Linked DNA regions of Homo sapiens: region 1 is linked to region 2. The links are contacts of gene promoters, found by promoter capture Hi-C in blood cells and fetal thymus (Javierre and others, 2016). All regions are on one chromosome and are shown on one strand. Each heading gives the region's core, a stretch centred on a gene start or on the middle of the fragment in contact. The rest is flanking DNA. Distances are from core to core; before and after follow the strand shown.

Evidence for each region. The method cuts DNA at HindIII sites, captures the fragments that hold promoters and counts their contacts. A CHiCAGO score of 5 or more calls a contact.
Region 1: a contact is called between a fragment that was not itself captured here and the fragment with the promoter of CAMSAP2 in region 2, in 1 of 17 cell types (monocytes). The highest score is 5.3, in monocytes.

Annotation. Positions count from the first base shown.
Region 1 is chr1:200,592,273-200,598,919 of GRCh38, forward strand. It overlaps KIF14 (kinesin family member 14), which reads right to left. Exons shown (of 30, transcript NM_014875.3): 14 at 5,965-6,149; 15 at 1,395-1,497. Among named protein-coding and RNA genes, the nearest start is that of KIF14, 25 kb to the right of the region's middle. The HindIII fragment of the contact is 1,359 bases long and covers 838-2,196 here.
Region 2 is chr1:200,733,940-200,741,011 of GRCh38, forward strand. It overlaps CAMSAP2 (calmodulin regulated spectrin associated protein family member 2), which reads left to right and starts at 4,954. Exons shown (of 17, transcript NM_203459.4): 1 at 4,954-6,027. The coding sequence starts at 5,889. RefSeq lists an enhancer at 4,584-4,663 and silencers at 5,304-5,663, 5,694-5,763. The HindIII fragment of the contact is 5,817 bases long and covers 1,906-7,072 here.

The sequences.
Region 1 (6,647 bases), core at 267-2,766, 150 kb before region 2:
TGAGTCTCAACCAAAAAATTAAATGAGAAAATTTATTTTGCCCAACAATTCAATATAGTCTAGTATTAATGATAAACATAAACATCATAGCAACTAACATTTATTACTTTTTTTTTCTTTTGGCACAGAGTCTCACTATGTCACCCAGGCTGGAGTGCAATGGCACAATCTCAGCTCACTGCAACCTCGGCCTCACGGGTTCAAGCAATTCTCCTGCCTCAGCCTCCCGAGCTGCTGGGATTACAGGCGTGTGCCACCACACCCAGCTAATTTTTGCATTTTTAGTAGAGATGGGGTTTCACCATGTTGGCTAGGCTGGTCTCGAACTCCTGACCTCATGATCCACCCACCTTGGCCTCCCAACGTTTATTACTTTGTATATACCAAACACTGCATTAAGCACATTACACATATAGTCATATGTCTCTTAACAACAGGGATATGTTCTGAGAAGTACACTGTTAGGTGATTTCATAGTTGTGTGAATATCATGGAATGTACTTACACAAACCTGGATGGTATAGCCTACTACACACTTAGGCTATATGGCATAGCCTATTGCTCCTAGGTTACAAACCTGTACAGCATGTTACTGTACTGAATACCATAGGCAACTATAACACAATGGTAAATAATTGTATATCTAAACAGAAAAAAATACAGTAAAAATACAGTATTATAATCTTATGGGACCACTGTTACATATGTGGTCCCTCATTGCCCAAAACATCATTATGAAGTGCAAGACTTTATGTTATCTCATTTACGATTCACAACAACTCAGTGAGATACATATAATCATCCCAATTTTAGGAATGAGGAAACTAAACAGCACAAAGCTTAATAATAACAAGAGACATTCATTGAGAGCTTACTATTTGCAGATACTATTCTAAGAACTATATACACAAATTATTATTTCAGTTAATCCTTCACTATCTCTGAAAGGCAGGATATATAGAGTCACAATAGGTCTGGGTTTGCCTGTAACACACTGCTGATGTTTGTTCTCTTGATGTAATTATTAATAATGATCTCAAAAGTGTCCTGACTTGGGTGACATTGTTTAATCATCTAGTTAAATAACTTGCCAGACGTCACAGAGCAAATGGCAAAGCCAGGATTTCAACCCTGTCTGTCTGATTCTAAAGCCTAGCTCTTTATAGGACACATAATGATGCTATTAGTGGTCAGCTCTTCAGGTACTGATTCATATAAATGTAACTTTTGTCTTTGCACAAGAAAGCAATTAATAGGAAAAAGAATTTTTGAAATGAAAAAGTCCTTAATCTGCTTCAACACCCTTATCTTATAGAGAAAACCAGAACTCAAAGAAATTAAATGACTTATCCAAAGTCGAACAGTTTCTTATATTATAGCACCCATCCACTTACATGACGTAATACTGTGATTTCCAAAATATGTTTTCCATTTACATATGTCTTTGCTTCCCCAACTGGGATAATACTCACTGTCCCACCAAAATTTTTGATAGTACTGTTAAAATAAGAAGCACATAGTTAACAATTATAGAACACACTAAAAAGTAAGAAAAAGGCAATATGGGATAATTCTGCTTGGGCTATTCCTTTGGTGTTAAGATTCATACCAATATGTAACAATAATTTAAAATTATTTTATTTTCCTCCAACTAGTTTTTTTTTTTTTTTTTTTTTGAGACGGAGTCTTGCTCTGTCGCCCAGGCTGGAGTGTAGTGATACAATCTCAGCTCACTGCAAGCTCCACCTCCTGGGTTCAAGCAATTCTCCTGCCTCAGCTGCCTGAGTAGCTAGGATTACAGGCACCCACCACCATGCCCTGCCCAGCTAATGTTTGCATTTTAGTAGAGATGGGGTTTTGCCATGTTCGCCAGGCTGGTCTCTAATTCCTGACCTCAAGTGATCCACCTGCCTCGGCCTCCCAAAATGCTGGGATTACAGGCATGAGCCACTGCATCGAGCCTCCAATTAGATTTTGAAGTTTGGTGAAAAAAGCCTGGCCTCTAGCAATCCGATCCACCTGTGGTGGGAACATTCTTCATTGGGTGTATTTTTATTATAACTTCTTTGAAAACAAAAACCTTCCCCCAAAAATTCAAAAAAAAAAAAAAAAAAAAAAAAACTAGCAAAAAACATTAACATACTGCCAGTGATTTCTTATGAATAAAACAGTTTTAAGTGTTTTTTTAATTTTCTAAGCTTCTGGTTTTACATATGAGCTTTAATAACAGAAAGAACAAATATTTCTCCCCTTTTGAAAAGTAGGGTACTACAGAGGAAGGAAAAACATGGAGATCAAAGTGTACCCCTTAAGACATCTAATTTACTGGATGATAAGGTGATACTGTGGAAAATCAGCTATAAGTGCTACATATTTGAGTCTTTTTATTCAGAGAATAGGAAAGAAACTCCAAAGTCCAATTCATCTTTGGATTAACGGGATAGAAAGAAAAACTGCAACAAAAGCTGAGTCCTAACCAAAGATCTTTTTAGCTGTGGATTAGGCTCCAAGATCTGTGATTAGAGAATAATAGTTTAATTAAAGCATCTAGAGAAAAGTACATGGAAACAATAGTTCACCCTTAGGCACTACATCCCTCCTACCAGTCTAGTGTCTTATCCAGGTGAAGGTTTATACAATGTGTACTTGTTCTGATCCCTTTCCTCTCCTAATTCTATCTACTCTGCTCTCAAAATTCCATGGCCTACCATTCTGGACGCCCCACAATCTGGCTTCAACCACCAACCTCCCTCATCTGCCACTATTTTCCCATAAGAACCCCATTTCACACTTAATCAACCATATGAATACTCTGAATTTGCCTTAATGTCAGCTTTCCTCCTTTCCTTGAGTCATTCCTTCCAGATAGGACATCCTCTCCCTTCTTGCAACCATTCTTGAAGGCCCAATTTAGAGTCCTCTAAGAAGCTGTTCTTTAGGGTTTAAGTTAGAAGTCAACTCTTCCTTCTCTTCACTTCTAAGCAGTAAGTATGCAGTACTCATAACACTTAATATGCATTAATAGATACTGAAGTTCTTTTTTTCTCTTTCACATGACCAGCCTCAGCCATGAAGTTCTTTTATTCATTAAGCCTCCAAGAGCCAGTTATGTGTCAGCAATGAAGACAGACATGAAATCAGCTTTCATAAAGTTCATGGTCTAGTGAACAAGATAAACTGAGGAAGGTACGAAAAATGGAAGTAGAGAGTTAGAGGCAAGCAAGAGGCTTCCAAGTTCCTTACTGGACTCTTAACTCTTTGGGAGCATGTTCTGTATCTTTGCCACAGATGTTAATAATACTGTATTTATTTGTTAAAGAAAATAATTAATTAATAAAAGAGCAAAAGAACCTAAAGAACAAAAGGATATGCCCTAACAGATATAAAGATTCATGGCCAGGTGCAGTGGCTCACGTCTGTAATCCCAGTACTTTGGGAGGCCAAGGTGGGTGGATCACCTGAGGTCAGGAGTTCAAGACGAGCCTGGCCAACATGATGAAATCGTCTCTACTAAAAATACAAAAAACTAGCTGGGCATGGTGGCTGCTACTCAGGAGGCTGAGGCACGAGAATCGCTTGAACCCAGAAGGTGGAGGTTACGGTGAGCCAAGATCACACTACTGCACTCCAGCCTGGGTGATAGAGTGAGACTCCATCTCCAAAAAAAAAAAAAAAAAAAAAGATATAAAGATTCATTACAGGCCGGTCGTGGTAGCTCACACCTGTAATCCCAGCACTTTGGGAGGTCAAGGTGGGCGGATCACCTGAGGTGGGAGTTTGAGACCAGCCTGGCCAACATGGTGAAACCCCATCTCTACTAAAAATACAACAATTAGCCAGGCGTGGTAACAGACATCTGCAATCCCAGCTACTCAGGAGGCTGAAGCAGGAGAATTGCTCGACTCCAGGAGGTTGCAGTGAGCTGAGATGGTGCCACTACACTCCAGCCTGGGCAACAGAGCAAAACTCTGAAATCAAAAAATAAATAAATAAAGATTCATTACAAAGCTCAAGTAATTACGACCATGGGGTATTAGTAGGAAGAAACAGATTCTGATATTTTTAGAAATTTTTTGTAGGAGCACTACAGATTCCAAAAGAAGCAATAAACTATTTAATATTTGGTACTGGGAGAAATGGCTATTCATGTGGAAAATAAATGAATTTAGATCCCTAATTCACACCAAATAAAAAATTCCAGACATTCAATAACTTAAATGTGAAAGCAAAACTTCAAAACATCTAGAAGAAAATTTAGAACATCTCTATGACCTCAATGTACAACAGTCTTTTTTTTTTTTTTTTTTTTTGAGTTAGAGTCTCACTCTATTGCCTAGGGTGGAGTATAGCAGAGTCATCTTGGCTCACTGTAGCTTCCACCTCCCAGGTTCAAGTGATTCTTATGCCTCAGCCTCCCAAGTAGCTGAGACTATAGGTGCCCACCACCATGCCGGGCTAATTTTTGTATTTTCAGTAGAGATGAGGTTTCACCATGTTGGCCAGGCTGATGTTGAACTCCTGGTCTCAAGTAATCTGCCGCCTCAGCCTCCCAAACTGTTAGGATTATAGGCGTGAGCCACCGCACCTGGCCAGAACACTCTATCTCTCTCTCTCTCTTTTTTTTTTTTTTTTTTTTTTTTTGAGACATAGTCTCGCTCTGTCACTCAGGCTGAAGTACAGTGGCATGATGATCTCGGCACACTGCAACATCCACCTCCTAGGTTCAAGCGATTCTCATGCCTCAGCCTCCTGAGTAGCTGGGATTACAGGCAGGTACCACCACGCCCAGAAAATTTTTTGTATTTTTAGTAGAGACAGGGTTTCACCATGTTGCCCAGGCTGGACTCAAACTCCTGAGCCCACACACCTGTGCTAGGATTACAGGCATAAGCCACCACGCCCAGCCAGAACATTCTTTCTTTAAGACATAAAAACTGACAATCATAAAGGAAAAGACTGATGCCAGGTACTACAATAAAATTAAGAACTTCAATCAATCAAAGGCACCAGAGAGAGTAAAAAGATGTTACACGTTAGAAAAAAAGATATTTATACCAAAAAGCTCACGAAAGATTGGCAACTCCTACAAATTATTAAGAAATAAGCAAATCAGTTGAAAAATCAACAAAAGATATGAAGAGGCAAGTTACAATAGTAAACAAAAATGGCCAATCAACACATGAAAAGATGTTCAACCTTATTATTAATCAAAGAAATGTAAAATGAATCCATAATGATATACTATTTAGTGTTCATCAGATTGGCATAAAGTCTGACAGTACTAAGTATTGGCAACGATGTGGAGTAACAGGTATTCTCAAGGCCAATGGGAGTAAAAATTCATTTTGGAAAATAATTTGAAATTAGCTACTAAAGTTGAATATGCACATATTCTACAACCTAGTATCTCTACTCTCAGACATACAATTTAAAAGCACTTCCTAAACTTTATAAGAGATAAACTCATACAATGGAATACTTCATAGCAGTGAAAATAAAACAGGAACCAATGTACACAAATCTTGGAAACACAATGCAGAGTCAAAAAAGTTTACATACGCTATCATTCCAACAATATATACAAGTATTCCATTCATATGAACAAAATTCACATAAAGTAACATTTTTAAATTGGTCAATCCAACCAAAAATTCTGTTATGTAAGATAGATAGTTTACTTGCATGTGCATCATTATAATTGCAAGAAAATAAATTATTCTTCAATCAACAGATCAAGTATGCCAAAACAAAAACAGAGAGAGCATTACACTGTACTTTATATTGAGAGTAACTGACCTATCATCCTTATAACACACTCAGAATGTATGTTTTTCCTGACTAAACAATGGGTTTGAAGAATTCTACCAAACGATCAGTATCAACGAATATGCCATATGAAGGAAACCACATGTTATCAAGATATAGAACAGGTGCCTTTTCTTTTTTTTTAGAGGATTAACATACCAATGATCATCAGCAATCAGCACCCCAGATAACTGAATATCATGGCTTGAGTTTGGTTTATACTTTCCAACTGTAGTTGTTCCTTCTTTTATCATATATAGCAGCATCTCAGATAGTTGTGGATCTTCATTCAGATTAACAAGGTTTGGTAAATGATTGTCCATTTGAAACATAATTCCTGCTTTCTGGTAGAAGTCAGAAAAAGAAATTAATCTTAATCACAGTATGAAATTGTTAAATTCACCTAAAACAAATGGTCTATATTAAACATTAAAACAATTCTATATGAAGTCTCACTAAATTAAAGGTTATTTATTTATTTTTTTATTTTTATTTTTTTGAGACAGAGTCTCGCTGTGTCACCCAGGCTGGAGTGCAGTGGCACGATCTCGGCTCACTGCAACCTCTGCCTCCTGGGTTCAAACGATTCTCCTGCTTCAGCCTCCCAAGTAGCTGAGACTACAGGCGCATGCCACCACGCCCGGCTAATTTTTGTATTTTTAGTAGAGATAGGGTTTCGTCATGTTGATCAGGCTGGTCTCGAACTCCTGACCTCAGGTGATCCACCCGCCTCAGCCTCCCAAAGTGCTGGAATTACAGGCGTGAGCCACCGTGCCCGGCCATAAAGGTTTTTTAGACTCTCTCCTCCTTCCTTAGAATCTCTCCTTTGTGACCTCCCTACC
Region 2 (7,072 bases), core at 3,704-6,203:
TAGGGGATTAATCAAGGAAAAATGTTTTAGGGGTCTGGGAAAATATGGTGCTGTACCTGGACACCTGAGAGCCGGGTTTCTCTGTTTGGTTCAGACACTGACTCACAGTGTGACTCTGGAAAGTTATGTGGCCTCCCGGTGTGTCAGTCATTCCAGCCACACACTTGGCATCATACTACGCAGGCCTCGCTAGAACTATTGTGAAGGTTGATGAGGTAATTCTTATAAAACTTTGCTAGCTATTCCAATGAAAGCCACGAGTGTATCTAGAAATGATAGACTGTCAGATATATAGCACAGACTCTTCTATCTCATGTTGGTTTATTAGAGGCGGCTATACTTCAACCAAGTGAACCTCTTATTGTCATCAATTAGCTTAGCATTCTTTCTCCCCTCTTCACGCCCACCCTTGGCCATTCTTAACCTGGTTGATTTGAAGTTTACTTATTCTAGTCCCTTGAGTTTCAAAGGAACGTAAGGTCTTCACCACTCAAAATTAAGTCTTCTGCCCCTTGGTTTCTCCAGCCACCAAATGAGGATGATAATAGGGGCTGTGGTGGGGATTAAATAAGTTACTATAGGATCGGGACTGCTACATAGAGAGTGCCAATAACTGTTAGCTGCTATTAGTGTAACTTATTGAAAGTGAATGATAGTACATGTGTATATGCCTTCTATTTAAGAAAATAATGTGAAGTCCTACTTATAGTGCTTGCTGGTTTAGTACTTCTTTGCTTCTGAGGGGACACACTGAAGACGTCTATAGGTGAAGTCACAAGGCTTCTAACTTACGGAGATAAGGACATGACAATGAAGGAGAGCTGGGCTGCTCAGGCCATAGGATTTCCAAGTTTTCTTACCAAAACTTTGCTTCTTCAGCTGTCTGTTTAACATCGCATCCTAGCACCCAGGGGCTCTATCAATACTGGCTGATGAATGAATGAACTTATGAATCTATCAGACAGAGAAATAGAGGATCGCCATATGGAAGGAAGTCTGGCTGGCATTTTGAATTCTCCAGGAGAAAAGAGAGAAACATGTTTACAACAGAGAGAAGGAGGGCTGTCTGTGCGGGAATAAGGGTAACTGTTGCTCAATGAACTGAGCCCCTAGGCCTGGAGATAAAAAGTAGAGGGATAGCTGTGCAGTTGGACAAGCAGGTCCAGAGAACCACTGGGTTTTGTTCTGAACAAAGTCAGATATCTTAAGGGGAAGTGGAGAGCATTTCTTTTTGACAGTGATATTCTGCAGAGATTTCCAGGTTTTAAAAGGATCATTCTGAAGGTGACACAAAGAACACCCTATTAGAGTGTCTGTCTCCCTGAAAATGAATCCTTCTTCTTTGTACTCAGGGTGTTTCCCTCTTAATAATAGCCTCCTACTATGACCCCAAGTTGTTTCACAGCCTCCCTGACAGTAAAAGCTGCTCATTGTTTAGGCATTTTGTTTTTTCCCATTCCTAAACACACTCCTTCCCAGTTGGGGTTCTAGTAATGCCATCTCTACTAAATGCATCACCATTGAATCAAGGGACAAGTTGCAGCAACTTACTTTGTTTCCTTCTCTTCCTTGTCTTGTTCATTTAGGTTGAAATAGTTTTCAATGAAATCCAACAAGTATTTACCCAGCACCCATTGAGAGCAAACTACTGTGCTAGGTCACATGCAACATCAAGGTGATTAGGCACGATTTCTGGCCCTGAGAATCTTGTATTGGCTTGCAGATTATTATAATGACTGGTAAAATGTTTCAGTATCTCTCTTCAACCTTTCTGGGCTATAGGTTCTTCCTAACATGATTTATGTGCTCTAGAATTCAGTCAAAGTTGCATTTGAGAACATTAGATTCAACAGATGTCTCCAAGAAACCTTCCCAATCCCTCCACCTATATATGGTCTGCCTGCAAGCTTTTTTTGGTTTGTTTTTTGTTTTTGTTTTTTTTTTGAGATGGATTCTCGCTCTGTTGCCCAGGCTGGAGTGTAGTAGCATGATCTTAGCTCACTGCAACCTCCGCCTCCCAGGTTCAAGCAATTCTCCTGCCTCAGCCTCTCAAGCATCTGGGACTACTTGCGCACATCACCACGCCCAGCTAATTTTTGTATTTTTAGTAGAGATGGGGTTTCACCATCTTGGCACGGCTGATCTCGAACTCCTGACCTTGTGATCCACCTTCCTTCAGCCTCCCAAAGTGCTGGGATTTCAGGCATAAGCCACCGCACCCGGCCTTTTTTTTTTTTTTTTTTTTTTTTTTTTTTGAGACAGAATCTTGCTATGTTGCCCAGGCTGGAGTACAGTGGTGCGATCTCTGCTCACTGCAATCTCTGTCTCCTGGGCTCAAGCAATTCTCGTGCCTTGGCCTCATGAGTAGCTGGGATTACAGGTGTGTGCCACCAGGCCTGGCTAATTTTTGTACTTTTAGTAGAGACAGGTTTTTGCTATGTTTCCCAGGCTGGTCTTGAACTCCTGACCGCAAGTGATCCACCTGCCTCAGCCTCCCAAAATGCTGGGATTACAGGCATGAGCCATTGTGCTTGGCCCCTGACTGCACTTTATATCTCTTACAGCACTTATCACTTTTACATTGTATTATAAATTTATTTATGTACATGTTAGCCTCCATAATGCGGAAAGAGAGCAGGCACAGGGAAAAGTGCCAGAGGAGTGGAGCCAGAAGACCTGTGCTTGAATTTGAAGCCAGACTCAGATATGAATCAACCATGAAATCTTGGCCATGCCACTTAATCTTTGCAATTCTCAGTCCTGCATCTAGAATTGGAAGACAATAATAATTCCTACTTCATAAAATAGATATGGAAATTAGTTATCATATGAACATGCTTTGTGAGTTGTTATCTATCTGTTAATTTTATTAACCTCCATGTGATACAGCAAAGGGCCTTCCTTGCCCATGAGAAAAACCCTATTAATATTAATTAAATTATTGGAAAAATTACATCAACCACCCTCTGGCATATTATTATTTTCAAATTCTTTTCATATCCCACATTGTTAGCAAGCCTCATCTGTTGTGTCCTACTAGGTTTAAGGAGGAGTGTTTACAGGGATTAAACAGAAACAAAGGGACCTGCTTTTTGATGGAGCTGCCCTCTGCCTTTACTAGTTGTGCAGAATAAGAGTAATTAATTTTTTTTTCTGAGCCTTAGTTTTCTCATCTGTATAATGAAGATAATACAGGATTTTATAATGATTAAAATTAGATAATGCTAGCGCTTTGGGAGGCTGAGGTGGGAGGATCCCTTGAGTCCAGGAGTTTGAGACTAGCCTGGGCAACATAGGGAGACCTCATCTCTACAAAAAATAAACAAAATTAGCTGGGTGTGGTGATGTGTGCCTGTAATCCCAGCTATATGGGAGTCTGAGATGGGAGGATTGCTTGAGCCTGGGAGGTTGAGACTGCAGTGAGCTGTGATTTTGCCATTGTATTCCAGCCAGGGCAACAAAGCAAGACCCTGTCTCAAAAAATAATAATAATAGGCTGGGCGCAGTGGCTCACATCTGTAATCCCAGCGCTTTGGAAGGCTGAGGTTGGCGGATCACCTGAGGTCAGGAGTTCGAGAGCAGCCTGGTCAACATGGTGAAACCCCATCTCTACTAAATACACAAAAAATCAGCTGGGCGTGGTGGTGCGCGCCTGTAGTCCCAGCTACTCAGGAGGCTGAGGCAGGAGAATCGCTTGAGCCCTAAAGGTGGAGATTGCACTGAGCTGAGATCTTGCCACCACTCTCCAGCCTGGGCGACTTAACAAGACTCCGTCTCAATAATAATAATAATAACAACAACAATCACTTAAAAATAAAATTAGATAATGTATTAAAATGAGACGTGAGGAGCTAGTGATTTAAGTAAGCTCAGTATGTGTTAACTTTGATAATATTCACATGTAGTCCATTAATTGAGCAATTATACTATGGGGCTGGGCACCGTATAGCTGCTGGAGATATACCCTGTCATCATGTCATCAATGGGAAAAACCGACAAGTAACTGATTATTGCCACACGATGTGACAGATGCTACGACAGAAATAAGAACAGGGTGCTCCGGGAACAACAGGGGAGGCACCTGTGTGACAGCCCTGACTGGAAAGTTGTCAGCAGCTGTCAGGGAAGGCTTCATGGAGGAAGTGACTACTGTGGAGTTTGAAGGTGCAGTAGGAGTAAGCTGGGTGGACAGAGGAACCACCCTGAGCAAGGAGGTAGAGATCTGAGAAGGCATGCTCATTGAAGAAAATAGAGAGCAGTTCTGACAAAATGAAGCTATAAAGGCCTGTAGATGCCAGATCACAAAGGGCATTAGCTTGTTTTGTGAAAGAATTTATGCTCTTTTCTGAGAGAATGGGGAGGCATTGTTGGACGTGTGCCCTCTCAGAGATAAAATTTAAGTGGAGAGCACTGAGTTAAGAAAATATCTCGATATCATGAAATTAACACAGGTTTGGAGCCCCCACAGATCCTCAATCCTGGTTAAGTTCCATGTATGACCTAATCAACTCCACCTCTCTTTCGTGGACAATCAGCAATGACATCTACCTCTCAGGATTATTGCGAGGGCTAAATGAGATAGTGCAGGTCAAGTTCGCTGCAAAGTGTGTGTCACATAATGAACATTTTAAGTAAATATCAACTCTTTTCGATGAAGCACTGTGTAAGTAGAATACGAAAGCTATTGCCAGGCCTCTCCCTCCTCCCTCCCTTCCTTTTCCTCTCTCAGCAGTGCAGGCAGCAGCAGCCAAAAGCCAGGGACGTGGAGGATGTCCACTGAAGCGAGTACTCCAGAGCGATGATTAAAAGGCAGCCGCCCCGAATCCCGGGCGCGGGCGGGGAGCGAGGCTGGGCATGCTCAGTGGGCCGGAGACGGGAGGGAAGCGGGGAGGGGGCGGGGGCGGGGGCGGGGGTTGGGGGGGGTGGGTCGGAGCCGCGCGAAGGCGCATGCTCAGTCTCCGCATCTGCTCCTTCATCCAGTGCCGCAGCCGGAAAACCGCAGCGGCGGCGGCGGCGGCTGAGGGGGAACGATCCAGCGAGCTGCAGAAAGGGGGGCAGGAAAAAATTACAAGGACATTACTGATAAGACAGGAACTGAGAGCTTGGGATTCGCGGCCTCTCCCCGGCCACCACCTTCGCCGTCAGCAAGGGAGGAAGACCCGGGAGACGGCAGCGGCGACGGCGGCAGGGGAAGGAGGAGACGGCGACGGGAGGGAGCACAGAGGAGGGGACGGGCCGGCGGCGGCCTGTGAGCCGCAGTGATTTTGACGTTTTCCGCTGCTGCGTCTCCGGCGGGCAGGGGCCGGGCTGCGCTGGGTGGGCCAGCTCGCCCCGCGCTTCCCCCTCGTCCTGCTCGTCCCTCCGCCCACCCGGGGCCTGAGGGGTCTCCCCGCTCCGAGGGAAGGGGAGAGGGAGGCGAGGGCGTGCGGGCATCGCGATGGCGGGGACATTTTCCACAACGTGATTGTTGAAGGCTCCCCCCATCCCCCCTCCCTTAAAATTCCGGGCCCTTCCAGCCTCCACCCTCCCCCAAGCCCGTGTGACTAAACCGAGACAAAGGGGAGGCGGCCTCGCTCACACGCGGGCTCGCGGGGCGGGTGGCTCGGAGGGGCGCGGGCACGGGGCGGACCTCGCGCGGACGGACGGACGGAGACGGCGCCGCCACATTCCTATGCCCGGGAGCGGCGGCGGCGGCGGCGGCGGCTCCCGCGGGAGGCGGCAGGCGCGCGGCGCGGACAGCTGAGCTTCTCCTCCGTCGGCGCCCGGGCGGACATCGCCCGGGCCCCGATGGTTTGAGCTTGCTTCTCCCTCCCTCCCGACCCCCGTGGTGGCGAGGCCACGCCATGTGAAGGTTAGGGCCGGGACATCCCGAGGAGCCGCGGTGAAAGATGGGGGATGCTGCAGACCCCAGGGAGATGAGAAAGACGTTCATTGTTCCAGCCATCAAGCCTTTTGACCACTATGATTTCTCCAGGGCCAAAATCGCCTGCAATCTGGCCTGGCTGGTGGCCAAAGCCTTTGGGACAGGTTAGTGGTGTCACCCTTTCCCTCCCCTCTTCCTCCTGATGTGGTCCACATCTCGGTTTTTGTTCCCGATTCTCGAATCCCTCCCTCCCCGTGCCTGTCTTCTCGTACAGGTTAAGGGAGATGATGGGAGGCTAGGAAGAGAAAGAAAGGAGAAATAAGGAAAGCAGGTTTGGTCTTCAATGAAGGGCACGTGAATGGTCAGGTGGGATTTGGCCAGATTCCTTTTATTGGATGGCAAAATGTCCCCCCCATCCCCCAGTGAGCAATTTTATGTTTTTACATAGAGTGGTTTTGATTTGTGGTATTTTCTTCATTGTGTTGCGTACATTTCTGCCTCAGTCATAATTGTGATTACACCACCAAGAAATCTGAGTTGGTTTCTTTATTATTGCAAGAAGGTGGATGGTGCATAGTACTATATTGATTTTGACATTTGTAATGATGGCTGCTATTCAGGCTCCGTTGGATGTAAGGTGGCCTGTGTCGAGTGCAGTATTAATTTTTGTTGTCATTCTTTAAGGCTGTATCAGCCTTCTGCACGCATGTTAAGTTCTTATTAAATCAGTTATTTAAAACCAGCGTTCAGTTTGCTGACTGTAGGGTGCAGTTTTCATTTCATATTATCAGTGAGGCATATTCTTTTTTCCAAATGTATTTTGGCTTCATAAATTAAAAGAAACAAAAACTCCCTACTTTGGGAAGTTTTTTAATAGATGAGTTTTTCGAAGGCGTGTGCTGTTGACACAGAAATTGTATAGTACAGTAGCAGTTAAACACTCCCTCCATAACCCAGTCTTTGCAAAATAACAGGAAAAGGGCCTCCCGTTATGATTCTTTAGTGTTGCTTTAGGAGCCCATGTTGTGAAATGTTAAAAAAATTAGAGAGCTGCTTTTCATTGGAAGATGCTTCTGTAATTTGGTAACTTTTAAGAGTAATTTTACAAGATTTCTGTTCCCTAGTTAATGAAGTTTAGATATATGAAATATTTGTTGAAAAGTTCCCTAGTACTCACAAATTTCCACATGTTAAATATAGGGTTTTTCA